Linked DNA regions of Homo sapiens: region 2 is linked to region 1. The links are contacts of gene promoters, found by promoter capture Hi-C in human tissues and cell types (Jung and others, 2019). All regions are on one chromosome and are shown on one strand. The core of a region is centred on a gene start or on the middle of the fragment in contact, and the rest is flanking DNA. Distances in the headings are between cores, read along the strand shown. Region 1 holds the start of IFIT5 (interferon induced protein with tetratricopeptide repeats 5). Region 2 overlaps SLC16A12 (solute carrier family 16 member 12).

The links. The method cuts DNA at HindIII sites, captures the fragments that hold promoters and counts their contacts. A contact is called where the count stands out against the background at its distance.
Region 2: a contact is called between a fragment that was not itself captured here and the fragment with the promoter of IFIT5 in region 1, in 3 of the 25 tissues and cell types used here (aorta, hippocampus and spleen).

What each region holds. Positions count from the first base shown.
Region 1 is chr10:89,409,944-89,416,494 of GRCh38, reverse strand. It overlaps IFIT5 (interferon induced protein with tetratricopeptide repeats 5), which reads right to left and starts at 1,927. Exons shown (of 2, transcript NM_012420.3): 1 at 1,692-1,927. The coding sequence starts at 1,696. It also overlaps a transcript of LIPA not described here. RefSeq lists enhancers at 881-950, 1,051-1,150, 1,761-2,070. The HindIII fragment of the contact is 7,296 bases long and covers 1-5,031 here.
Region 2 is chr10:89,526,347-89,533,143 of GRCh38, reverse strand. The region is part of intron 2 of SLC16A12 (solute carrier family 16 member 12); the gene reads left to right. Among named protein-coding and RNA genes, the nearest start is that of SLC16A12, 5.8 kb to the left of the region's middle. The HindIII fragment of the contact is 4,199 bases long and covers 1-3,691 here.

The sequences.
Region 1 (6,551 bases), core at 678-3,177:
TCTTTGGGAAGCTAATAAGAGAGAAGCTATTGCATCAGAAGAGGTAACACGTATCTTTCGGTAATTCTGTTCTTCTGCTAGGAAGAAGCAGACTTTCATTGTCCTTGGGAGACAGTCCCCAATGGGGCTGAGCCCTTTTCCTCCCCATCCTGCATATATACGGTGCACGCCACCGTCTTTTTCTGTTTTTTGTTGTTGTTGTTGTTTTGTTGTTGTTGTTGTTGTCAAGCCCCTTCCTGATAGCACTCTCCTTTCTTACAAATGTTAGATGTGGCCAGGCGTTGTGGCTCACGCCTGTAATCCCAGCACTTTGGGAGGCTGAGGCGGGTGGACCACGAGGTCAGGAATTCGAGACCAGCCCGGTCAACATGGTGAAACCCGCGTCTCTACTAAAGATACAAAAAATTAGCCAGGCGTGGTGGCACACGCCTGTAATCCCAGCTACACGGGAAGCTGAGGCAGGGGAATGGCTTGAACCCGGGAGGCGGAGGTTGCAGTGAGCCGAGATGGAGCCATTACACTACAGCCTGGGTGACAGGGCGAGACTCCGTCTCAAAAATAAAGTTAGATGTGTGGGTGGCACTTAAACTTTTTTTTTAAACTTATAATGGGAATAATTAACATTTATTGTGCAAGTATTATGTGCTAAGCAGTCAACTGATAGGATTTATTACTGTCCTTTTCCACAGTCCCAAGAGATGGACACCATTAATTTTTACAAATAAGGAACAGACTCACAGAGTTTGAGAAACTTTGGGATCACTCAACTAGTAGGAGTTCAGTCCGGATTTAGAACAAGGGACTATCTGCTTTTAGAGCCCAAGACCTTAACATCTCATTCCTCAACTCATTAAATGCGGAAGGTTCACTAACCACGTGCAGGGCGGGGTGCTAGCCCCTGGGGATACAAAATGATCAAGAAAAGGACGCCATCATACTAAATCAGTAAAGGAAACAGATAAAGAAATCCTCATAAAACAGCGGATTGGGTGGGACGATAACAATCTGTGCTTGGTACAGAGGTAGCTCCTGGGAAGGGAAGAACTCAGACCCAGAAATCAGAAACGCAAACTGGCAGTGGCAGGCGAACCTGACGCCTGCAGGGCTGCGGCGAAACCGCGTATGCCACACCGAGGGAATGGCAGCTGGAAAGAGAGGCACGCGACAGGCCTAAGGAGACCCGTGGCACGTAGCAGCTGCCCCCGGAACAGCGCCTGGGGGCTCTGCAGGCGCTGACCAGTTTCCCGGAGGCGGCGGCCGCGGACCCAGCACGGTCACCGTCGCCGCTGCCGAGAAGAGCCGTCGGGTCGCGATGGGTGGACAGGCCTTCCGGGGGAGCGTCGCCCGGCACATACCCTGACAGTCCCGACCGCAGACGCCAGGGATGGGACAGGCTCCCGGGGAGCATCTCCTGTTCCTCCTCCCTGACCGGCCTTCTTAGGCGCTGGGGAGGGGCCGGACTCCCGAGAAGCGTCCACTCGGCCACCCTCCCCGGCAGGCCCGACTTCAGACGCCGCGCGCCGGGACAGAGCGCCCGGGGAGGGTCCCCAACGCAGATGCCCGGTTGCTGGGCGCGAGGGGCTCGGCCCCTGAAAAGGCCGCAGAACTGCGCTGGAAATGAATAAAAGCAGCCCGGTTTGAAACCAAGGCCGACGCAGGGCTTGGGAGGAGAGGCAAAGGAAAACCCTTACCTCATGATGGCAGCGCTCTGCAGGCCGTCCGGGCGGCGCAGTCCCTCGGATCGCTCTCTCCTCAGCACCGGGGACCGCGGGAAGCCGCGCGGTGGGCGTGCGCGTGCGCGTGCGCGCGCCAGGCCTCTGCAGCCCCTGGACTCGGCCGCGCGGCGTGTCTTTGTTAAAGGAGAGACCCCAGCCCCAGCAAGAACAGGAAACTGGAGATTGAATCAGATGCCGAGCGCTCAGAAACTGAAACTTAAGAAATCGAAACTAAACGTAAGCTTCAGAAACCGAAACTTAATAGAAGAGCTCAAGAGCCGCGGCCAGACGTTTGCGGAGTCCAGGGTCTTTCGGAGTTGAATTTGCAGCTGGGCTCCTTCACTTTGGTCTCGGCTTTTATCTGCCTCCCTGAGTACGCTGAGTTCGCATGCTGCCCGTGTAACTGTTTGTTTGTTTGTTTGTTTGTTTGAGATAGCGTCTCACTGTGTCACCCAGTCGTGATCTCAAGGGATGCGCCCGCCTCTGCCTCCCAAGGTGCTGGGATTACAGGCGGAAACTTAAGTCCCTGCTTCCACTCCAGTCTTTTGATTCAACAAGCAACACTGCAATGCTATACATCTATGCTGTTATTTCTGTTGGGTGTAAACTGAGAAATTTGGAGCTAAAATCTATATACATTTTAAGTTTTGACGGATATTGCCAAATAGCTTTAAAAATCCACTCTTACCCACAATTGTAGGAGACTGCTTCTCTTCCATACCTTCGCCAATGGTGCTTTGTAATAAGGACCCAATAAAGACAAGAGTGGTATTGGGGATCTAGGCAGAAAATGTCAAACACCCATACCTTAAACATTTTGTCCCCTTTGAATTCATTCAGCAAATATTGACAAACAACTGTAAGAGCCAGACTTTGTTCAAAGTACTGTCAATATAACAATAAAGAAAACAGACACGGGCCTTACCCTTATTGAGTTAATGTCTGTATTCAAAACCTCAATATCCTGTCCATAATTCATCTTTTGCATTGATTTTGGTTTTTTTTTTTTTTTTGAGACAGGGTCTCACTCTGTCACTCAGGTTGGAGTGCAGTGGTGAGATGACAGCTCACTGCAGCCTCAACCTTCATGGCTCAAGCGATCCTCCCACCTCAGCCTCCTGAGTGGCTGGGACTATATGCGTGCACCACTATGTCGGGCTAATTAATTTATTTTTTGTAGAGGCGGGGTTTTGCCATGTTGCCCAGGCTGGTCTCCAACACCTGGGCACAAATATTTTTCTAAACCTTAAATATTGTTCCGCCCATCGTGGCCTCCCAAAATGCTGGGATTACAGGCATGAGCCACTATGCTTGGCCTGATTTTGAATTTTTAAAAACATATTGCATTGAAATATTGTCTACCTTGATCACTGAGCTTCTGGCACCCCACCCCTCAAAACTTAGTGCCTGAAGCGAGTGCCTCATTTAAAGCAATCACTTCTAACAGTTGTACTGTCTTATACAGAAACTGCTGGTCACCTGTGGCTATTAAGAACCTGATTTTTAATTTAATATAAATTTAAAAACTGATAAGTTAATAGAAAACTTACATTTGGAATAACTTAGGTATACGAATCTGCTTTTTATAAGTTGCAAATTTTATGAACTCTAAATACAGAGCAAGTATTTCCAGTGATTATCCTCAGCAAACTAATGCAGGAACAGAAACCAAACACTGCATGTTCTCACTTGTAAGTGGGAGCTAAATGATGAGAACACACGGACACAGTGGGGAACAACACACACTGGGGCTTGTTGGAGTTGGGGGTGGTGGGAGGGAGAGCATCAAGAAGTATAGCTAAGTGATGCTGAGCTTAATACGTAGGTGATGGTGTGTCCGGAATTGGTTCCTTCCAGTAGGTTTTTGGTCTTGGTGACTTCAAGAATGAAGCTGCGGACTCTCGCTGTGAGTGCTACAGTTGTTAAAGATGGCGTGTCTGGAGTTTGTTCCTTTCGATGTTCAGATGTGTCTGGAGTTTCTTCCTTCTGGTGAGTTCGTGGTCTTGCTGACTTCAGGAGTGCAGCTGCAGACCTTCACAGTGAGTGTTACAGATCTTAAAGGTGGCGCGTCCGGAGTTGTTCGTTCCTCCCGGTGGGTTCGTGGTTTCACTGACTTCAGGAGTAAAGCCGTAGACCTTTGTGGTGAGTGTTACAGCTCATAAAGGCAGTGTGGACCCAAAGAGTGAGCAGCAGCAAGATTCGTTGCGAAGAGCGAAAGAACAAAACTTCCACGACGTGGAAGCAGACCCGAGCAGGTTGCCGCTGCTGGCTGGGGTGGCCTGCTTTTATTCCCTTATTTGGCTCCACCCATATCCTGCTGATTGGTCCATTTTACAGAGAGCTGATTGGTCCACTTTACAAAGTGCTGATTGGTCCATTTTACAGAGTGCTGATTGGTCCATTTTACAGAGTGCTGATTGGTCCATTTTGACAGAGTGCTGATTGGTGCGTTTACAAACTTTTAGCTACACACAGAGTGCTGATTGGTGCGTTTACAATCCTTTAGCTAGACAGAAAAGTTCTCTGAGTCCCCACCTGACCCAGAAGCCCAGCCAGCTTCACCTCTCAATCCCCCCTCTAAACAGGACACCCCAATTGCTGATGGGAATTTGGCTGATGACTGCTCTAGCTACTTTCTGCTGGATAGGGGCGAAGAAGGGGCCCTGTAGGTGTAGTGTCCTCCAGAGGGGAACTCTTTAGGCCAGTGGAAGGGCCAGCAGGTCAGTCCAGGGGTCCTCGGTAGAAGTTGTTAGTTGAACTCATTTGGGGTTCCATTTGTAAGACCATCTGTAGCTTGAGGGCCTCAATTCTAGAGGAAACAAATTTGACAAGAAGGTTAAAAACACAGGGCCCAAAGACAAGTAACAGCAAGATGGCTGCCACAGGACCTAGAAAGGGGAGAAGCCATGTTGCCCAACTCCAGAGGTTGGTATAAGAGTTTGAAAGGTGTTGTCTGATTTCAGAAGCCTTTTCCTGTAAACACCGGGTGGCATCTCGTGCTATCCCTGACTGGTTAGTGTAAAAACAACACTCTTCCCCTAAGAAGCTGCACAGTCCTCCTTTCTCAGCAGTGAGGAGGTCTAGGCCTTGGCGATTTTGGAGAGTCGCTGCTGCCAAAGAGTCTGTTTGGGATTGTAGAGTAAGGATAGATTTCATTATTTCATGCAAACTGTCTGAGAAATCCTTTGAGAGTGTATGGTAGTAGGATAATGCATGTTACACTGTTAACTTTTAGCAAACTTTACGTTAGTTGAAAACCTTGTAAGTTTGGGATTTCAATTATTCTTTGCTATTAGTAAGACCTCGTTCAGTCCATATTAACTTAGAATTGGTATAGATGGCTCCTTCCTGATTCTGTAAGTATTTTAAGGTTTGGCTGAGTGCAAACAGCTGACACATTTGAGCAGACCAATTATTAGGCAATTTTCCTAACACTGCTTCTACAAGAGTTTCCTTATTATTTACTGAATACCCATTGTGTTTTTTTTTTCCTTAATTGCCCAGGAGGAACCATCTATCCGTCCTGTCCTGAAGGGAGTTCCTCCTAGATCTGGTCAGACCTTTGTATGGGAATTAATTAAGATTTAGATCCCCTGTTAGGAAACCTGCTGGGTAAGGATTTTTGATAGGAAGGCTACTGGTTGTCAGTGGCCTCAGTGCTTTCAGGCTACGCCCTTGTTTACACTGACAGCAAGGTGGTATTGGAGTGTTATAGGGTTTCTGAGAAGACCTTCAGTTATCAATTATAGGTTTTAAATTTACCCTGGCTTTTAAAGGAATAGGGTACACTGTTTTTTCTTTACTACTTCTATCTCTCTCTTTGACTTCTTCGTCTCTCTCTTCCTCTCTCTGTCTCTCTCTCTCTGACTTTCTGTCTCTTTCTTGCTTTCCTTTCTGCTGGTGTTTCCCTGCCTCTGCCAGTGGCTTATGCTGCTGTTCTTCCCTCTCCTTCACCTTTTGATGGCTTCAGCAGTGTAAGACTGCCACCTCCTTGGGTTTTTGCACCGCGTGCAATAACTCCGTGGTTTCCCTGTGTTATTTAATGGGGGTTCCCCCAGAGGTTAGGAACTCCCTTTCTTTCCATATTGCAGCATGGGCATGTAGGATTAGATAAGCATGGTTGCTCTCTGTATACACATTTATTGCTTTTTCCTTTCCCAGTTCTAAGGCTCGGGTAAGTGCCACTAGTTCTCCTAACTGGGTGCTGGTCCCTGGGGGAAGAGGCTTACTTTCAAGTATGGTTACATCGCTAAATATGGCATAATCTGTCCTTTGTATCCCATTCTCCATAAATGAACTTCCATCGGTATATAGGTTAAGGTCAGGATTAGCTAAGGGGACTTCTAAGGGATCATCTCGGGCAGCATAAGTCTGGACTAATTTGTTGGCAGTCATGCTCAATTGGTTCCCCAACCTCTGGGAGAAAAGTGGCAGGGTTGAGGGCCACGCATATAGGTATTTGAAGCACTGGTCCCTCAAGGAGTAGCACCTGGTATCTAAGTAGGCAGTTGTCTGATAGCCATAAACTTCCTTTGGCACCTAGTATGCCATTTACATCATGAGTATCCAGACAGTGAGACCCTTTCCTTATATTATTTTGATAGCCTCTGACACTAAGATGGCCACTGCCACAACTACCCTTAAACAGTGAGGCCAGCCTTTTGCTACTATATCAGTTTCCTTACTTAGGTATGCCACTGGTCATGGGGTTGTCCCACGAGTCTGAGTAAGGACCCCAGGAGCTATTTCTGCTTTCTCTGTGATGTTTAAAGAAAAGTTTCATCCTTTGGGAAGGCTTAAGGCTAGAGCTTGAGTTTGTTTCTTCCAATGCCCAGA
Region 2 (6,797 bases), core at 343-2,842, 120 kb before region 1:
AAAAACAAATTCAGGTGAAGTTACTTTGACTTTTATGAGCTGACATTTTACTGTAAGTGAATTGCAGTTCCCACATTTGGTTATTTAATATATGTTCATTTGGAGTCAATGAAATTACATTTCCTTTATTGCAGGGAGATCACCTTGGTGACTAAACTTGAAGCACGGGATGATTTGTTTTCTTAAGAGTGTTAGTGGTACCATGTTAGTATTGGAGACTAATTAAATTAGTTTATAAGATGTTGCTTTTTATTTATTTATGAAGATGGTGTTCTGTTGTTATTTTGTCTCACTTTACATTTTGTCCCCCACTTTCCTCCATATTCATAGACTATTAGACATTCCAGTTTTAAGCATTTTCTAATTCTCTCAATTGCTTTTTCTTCAAAACAGCATAGTTTGCAAGCTCAGGCATGTTTATTGTTTTTAACAAAGGCTTATCGAAATGAACTTGGCAGTTTTTCAGTCGTATACAGCCAAAGAAAAGTATTCAGTGCCGCTTTTGGGGTTGTTTATGCATTCCTCACCTAACCAGTTGCTTTGCTTTTAAAAATTGCCAATTTGGAAGCTATTTTCTTATGAGTACCTTTCCAGTGTATATAAAAAGTCACCCATTGAAATGATATAATAATTTAATTGATGAAAACTAAATACACAGTTGAAGAGGTTGGGGGATTTTGAACAGAAAGATTTTCCCTCTGATAATATTTTTAATGTGCTCTACATCAAAGGACATCAGAAAGTGTCATTATCTAACAATGTCCTGTTTGAAGGTGGTGTCTGTTGAACATTTGGGGAACAGTCACAATTTCTGATGCATGCTAGGCACCTGGAGTAGCTGATTTTTTTTTCTTCATTCACCCACCACTGTGCCCCATCAGATACATATCCTTCCTTCATTTACCGCGCATTGACGAGTAGGGTTAATTGCTGTAGCCAGGTAAGATGTTGCATGAAATTAATTAATTATTTAATTAGTGTGCTCATTCATTTATTAATTTAATGAATATTTATTGAACTTCTACTTCTTATTAAAAGATTTGTATAAGGATTTGTGTGAAGACTGTGTTTTGAGCATCTCTTTTCTGGTGCTGGTGACAGCAGGACGTGTAAAGACACAGAACATGCCTCTGATGCAGCTTACATCCTGGTATGGAAGAGAGGACATTGTATGGCTAGCTATCATACCGATTCAAACTACCATAAGAGATGCATAAGTACTTTGGGAATTAAAAGGAAGAAGAGAGAGCAGGCAGGCACTGTGAAGATTTGAGGGTTAGGGAAGACTTTGTAGAGGAGGGCCCATTGGAGTTGCTTCTTGAAAGATGGTAAAGCACGGTAAAGCTTTTATAGAGGCAGAGGATATACCTATCTTTATGGCAGCACATCCTTGCCTCTTTTTGAAGACACGTAGAGAACTTCCTCTTGGGAACCAGTTGAGGCTGTGTTGGGTCATATAATAGACACTTATCACCTCTCTGCCCCTCTACATGCATGTGACTCTGTTCTGCTTAATGAAATACTGCCCAACACTGAAACAACTCATTGGATTAACCAATGCTCTCCTCCTCTGAACCACATCCTGGTGGTTGCTCAGACACAGAGACCGCTGTGGGAAATAGCTATCATCTTAATAAATTTGTATACTTGGCTGTTACTAGGTCAGGTGCATGCTTACAGCGGTGTTTGGTTACAGTCCAGTTTATGCCAGTTGTACTTTGCTATTGTATTTTTGTTTTTTTCTTTGAGACAGAGCCTTGCTCTGTCACCCAGGCTGGAGTGCAGTGGTGTATTTCGACTCACTGCAACATCCGCCTCCCTGGTTCAAGTAATTTTCCCACCTCAGCCTCCTGAGTAGCTGGGATTACAGGCATCCACCACCATGCCTGGCTAATTTTTGTACTTTTTTTTTTTTTAGTAGAGACAGGATATCACCATGTTGGCAAGGCTGGTCTCGAACTCCTGACCTCAGGTGATCTGCCTGCCTTGGCCTCCCAAAGTGCCAGGATGCTATTGTAATTTTGTGATTTAATGAAATATTGCCTAAACCGATGTAATATGAATGCTAAACAAAGAATGGTATTTCTGTGAAAACTAAGTTGATCGCTATATGGACCCATAAAAGTAAGTAATGTTAAAAAAAATATATCAACACATGCTGCGACATGGATGAACCTTGAAAACATTATGCTAAGTGAAAGAAGCCAGATACAAAGACCACATGTTGTATGATTTATATGAAATGTCCATAATAAGCAAATGCATATGAACAAAAAGTGGATTAGTGATTGCCAGGGAAGTGGGGTAGGGGAAATAGAGAGTGACTGATGATGGATGCAAGGTTCCTTTTTGGGGTGACGGCTATGTTCTGGAATTAGATAATGGGGTGGTGGTTGCACAACATTGTAAATATATGAAAACCACCAGCCGGGCGCCGTGGCTCACACCTGTAATCCCAGCACTTTGGGAGGCCGGGGCGGGCAAATCACAAGGTCGGGAGATCGAGAGCATCCTGGCTAACACGGTGAAACCCCGTCTCTAGTACTAAAGTACAAAAAATTAGCCGGGCGTGGTGGTAGGCGCCTGTAGTCCCAGCTACTCGGGAGGCTGAGGCAGGAGAATGGCATGAACCCAGGAGGCGGAGCTTGCAGTGAGCCAAGATCCCGCCACTGCACTCCAGCCTGGGCAACAGAGCGAGACTCCGTCTCAGAAAAAAAAGAAAAAAAAAAACCACCAAATTTTACATTTTAAAAGTATTAAAATAGTGAAGTTTATGTGAATTTTATCTCAATTTATAAAAGGACTATAAAGCTTTTTAAAAAGCAACATGAACAAGCAAATTACAAAAGGAAGAGGGATGAGTACTTAGGTGTGGCATAGTGATAAGAGATTTGAAGAGTACAGTAAAAATTTCTAGAATGATTTTGCATTCAGGTTTTTTCACAAGCTCCAATAAGGTCCTGATCCTCTTTAAGAAATGGAAGCAGGAAATCTGGATGTGGATTAACCAAGAAAAATAACATAGAACTCCAATCATGACCCAATATCCAAAGATTAGTGAATGAATTTTTTGTTTATGAAAGGAATTGAAACAAAATGTTCAAAATATGTTGTATCAACTTTTTGACTCTGCTTTTCCTGACTTCTGATTACTTTACTGCTGAGAGCTTCTAATGTTTCCATTTCTGAGGGTACCCTGTATATTTTGAAAATAACTCATTTCTGTATCTAGAGAGAAATTCCATGTCTATGAGCCTCTTATAGATATAGCATTAGTCACTTAAGACTGTAAAGGAGGCCGGGTGCAGTGGCTCATGCCTGTAATTCCAGCACTTTGGGAGGTTGAGGCGGGTGGATCACCTGAGGTCAGGAGTTCGAGACTAGCGTGGCCAACATGGCGAAACCCCGTCTCTACTAAAAATACAAAAATTAGCTGGGCGTGGTGGCACGTGCCTGTAATCCCAGCTACTAGGGGGGCTGAGGCAGGAGGATGGCTTGAACCTGGGAGGTGTAGGTTGCAGTGAGCCGAGATTGTGCCACTGCACTCCAGCCTGGGCAACAGAGAGAGACTGTCTCAAAAAAAAAAAAAAAAAAGACTGTAAAGGAAATTGGGACTCAGTTTCCCAACTTCTGAATCACCATAAAAATCAGCAACTGTTTCCCCCTAACACCGTCTTCTGGCTCGGTGGTTCATATATGTAAACAAAGTAGCTACATAAAGTGTTAACTATACCAATACTTAAAAATTATCACCCAAATCATTTGTAGACTATGTTTTTTTCAAAATATTCCTGAGCACAATTAATCATTTTGTGGTTTATTTGACATATTATAAATTAGGGCCATAATTACTTATTTTGGGATTCCACTTTGCTTGATGGAATACTTTCCATGGGAGTGAGTTCATATTTATCTACTGAAACCAGATGTATTTCTTGAAACAGAAATTTCAGCTCTCTGAACCTGTAACTTCAAAGCAACCACATTCATAGCCCCCGAAGGAACCACCAAAAAAATAAAAACTCACGACAAAGTTAAATCTCATAAGGGAGAACAGAATGCTGCTTCTTCAGGCAGTGATAGTTCAACCAGACAACTATCAAAAACCAGCCTTAATCATCATTATTAAATAGTTATGAATAGGGGTAGCCCAAACTCACAGGCATAAATGATATAAAAAATAAATGGTCTGTTCAGGTTGACACCTGACAACCTAGTATCCATAAATCAGTTGATTGAAGACTCTGTATCAATGGTTCTCAACCCCACCTACACATTAGAATCACCTGAGGAAGGAAAAAAACTGGTACCAATGTCCTACTCTGAAAAATTCTGATTCCGTAGGTCTGAGATACAGGGCTAGGGTATTGATAGTTTTTAAATCTCTCTGGTGAATCTCATGTACAGCCAGGGTTGAGAAACTATGGACATATGTAATAATAATTTTGTGCCTCTTTAGAAAAAAATTTTATTGAAACATAAAATTTCATGTGTGGTATATTCTTAACATATAATGGAAATTTTTTGTGTGTGCATTTTCTCTATAGAGGGCCCATTCATTATATGGAAAGCTTTTCCCAATGGTTGAATGAATGTTCAGTGATTTTTTTTCTTCTCTGTGGAATTCACTAGGCTTATGTGTATAAGATGTCAAAACAACCAAATCAACACAATTGATATAATTACTGTCAACCAATGAATTAATTAACCAACTATTTTCAAGTTTTTGATGATTGTGGTACCATATGGGTATTTTTGTTTAGGACAATAATTTGGCCTTTTACTCTACAACAATAATGTGTTTCCTCTAAAATACTTACAGATGTGTCCTTTATTATGTGTTTCTTTAAATTGATTGAGTTGTCAACCTTAATACTCAAACTTTCTCTGAAAACTTTCTGTTTTTATTCAATTGCATCAAATTAAATAAAAAGGGTTATCTTGGGACAGGGTCTCTCTTTGTCACCCAGGCTGGAGTGCAGTGGCCTTATCAGGGCCCACTGCAGCCTCGACCTCCCAGGCTCAAGCAATCCTCCCATCTCAACCTCCCAAGTTGCTAGGACTACAGGCATGAGCCACCATGCCTGGCCAGACTTTTATATAAGAAAGATATTATATAGGACTCTTACGTAAGAAAGATAGGAGTTTAAACCTTGCCCTATGTGACTTCAACAAAGTATGATTAATTTTAGAGCTTTCCTTGTCATTAGGATTTATTGTTTTTGAGAAAATGTGGTGAGGTGACTGATACAGATTCTGAAGATTTATCTAGTAGACTACTCCTACTTAGAATTCACCTCTTTTTTTCTTTTCTCTCTCTCTCTCTCTCTTTTTTTTTTTAAGAGATGGGGTCTCACTGTCACCCAGGCTGGAGTGCAGTGGTGCAATGATGGTTCATTGCAGCCTTGAACTACTAGGCTCAGGCAGTCCTGCTTCAGCCTCCAAAGTAGCTGGAACTACAGGTGGGCACCACCATGCCCAGATAAATAATTTTTTTTTTTTTTGTAGAAATGGAAATGGAGTCTTACTATGTTTTTCCAGGCTGGACTTAAACTCCTGAGCTCAAGCAATCCTCTCTCCTCAGCCTCCCAAAGTGCTGAGATTATAGATGTAAGCTACCATGCCAGCCCCTTATTTTTTTAGTTTTATTATTTTTTTTTTGAGGTGGAGTCTCACTCTTTCACCCAGACTGGAGTGCAATGGCATGATCTCGGCTTGCTGCAACCTCTGCCTCCTGGGTTCAAGCGATTCTCCTGCCTCAGCCTCCTGAGTAGCTGGGATTACAGGCACCTGCCACCACACCCGGCTAATTTTTGTATTTTTAGTAGAGACGGGGTTTCACCACGTTGGTCAGGCTGGTCTCAAACTTCTGACCTCAAGTGATCTGCCCACCTCGGCCTCCCAAAGTGCTGGGATTACAGGCATGAGCCACCACGCCCTACTCAGCCCCTTATTTTTTTTAATTTGTTCTTATTTGGTTTTAATGCTCATGGAGATTCTCACCCACTGTTACCAGTTAGCTTCCCCAAATTACACTTTAACTGTTGATTTTGTAATAAAAATAAATAAATTTTTATCCACGAATAAAAATCTTAATGGATTTTGGCCAGTAGATTTTAAACTGTATTTTGCAAATTCCTGGGAGTATCAGGGAGCACCTCTGGAGCTGTGTTACAGGGCATGAGGGCAATGGGTGGCAGACCGATGTCCAGCTTCCAGCTTTGGGCTCCTTTCTGGTGGCCCCTTCTGCTATCTGAGTAGGTGTTCTGTTCTTGATTTCTTAATGGATTTTGGCCAGTAGATTTTAAACTGTATTTTGCACATTCCTGGGAGTATCAGGGAGCACCTCTGGAGCTGTGTTACAGGGCATGAGGGCAATGGGTGGCGGACCGATGTCCAGCTTCCACCTTTGGGCTCCTTTCTGGTGGCCCCTTCTGCTATCTGAGCAGGTGTCCTGTGCTTGATTTCACATATTTGGTTTCCAAGTAAGATTTTATTTGAACAAAGGATTTCTTGGCCAAAACAAGTTTGTAAGTGATTGGGCCACATGTTTCTAAGTTTCTGCTTCCTGTTCCTTGCCAAATTTGTTTTATATTCTGGCAGCTCCTAATTGTTTCAAGCTACGACTGCGGATCTGTGTTGAAAAGCCTGGGAAATCTTCGGTCTTAATAACTTTATAACTTTGATGCCTGTGGGGAGAGATAACCAAGTAAGCAGTTAGATATTTACAGCAAGAACTATAGCTTGGGAGTTATCAGTATAGGGACTCAGTTCAAGTTATATGTCTCCCCAGGAGA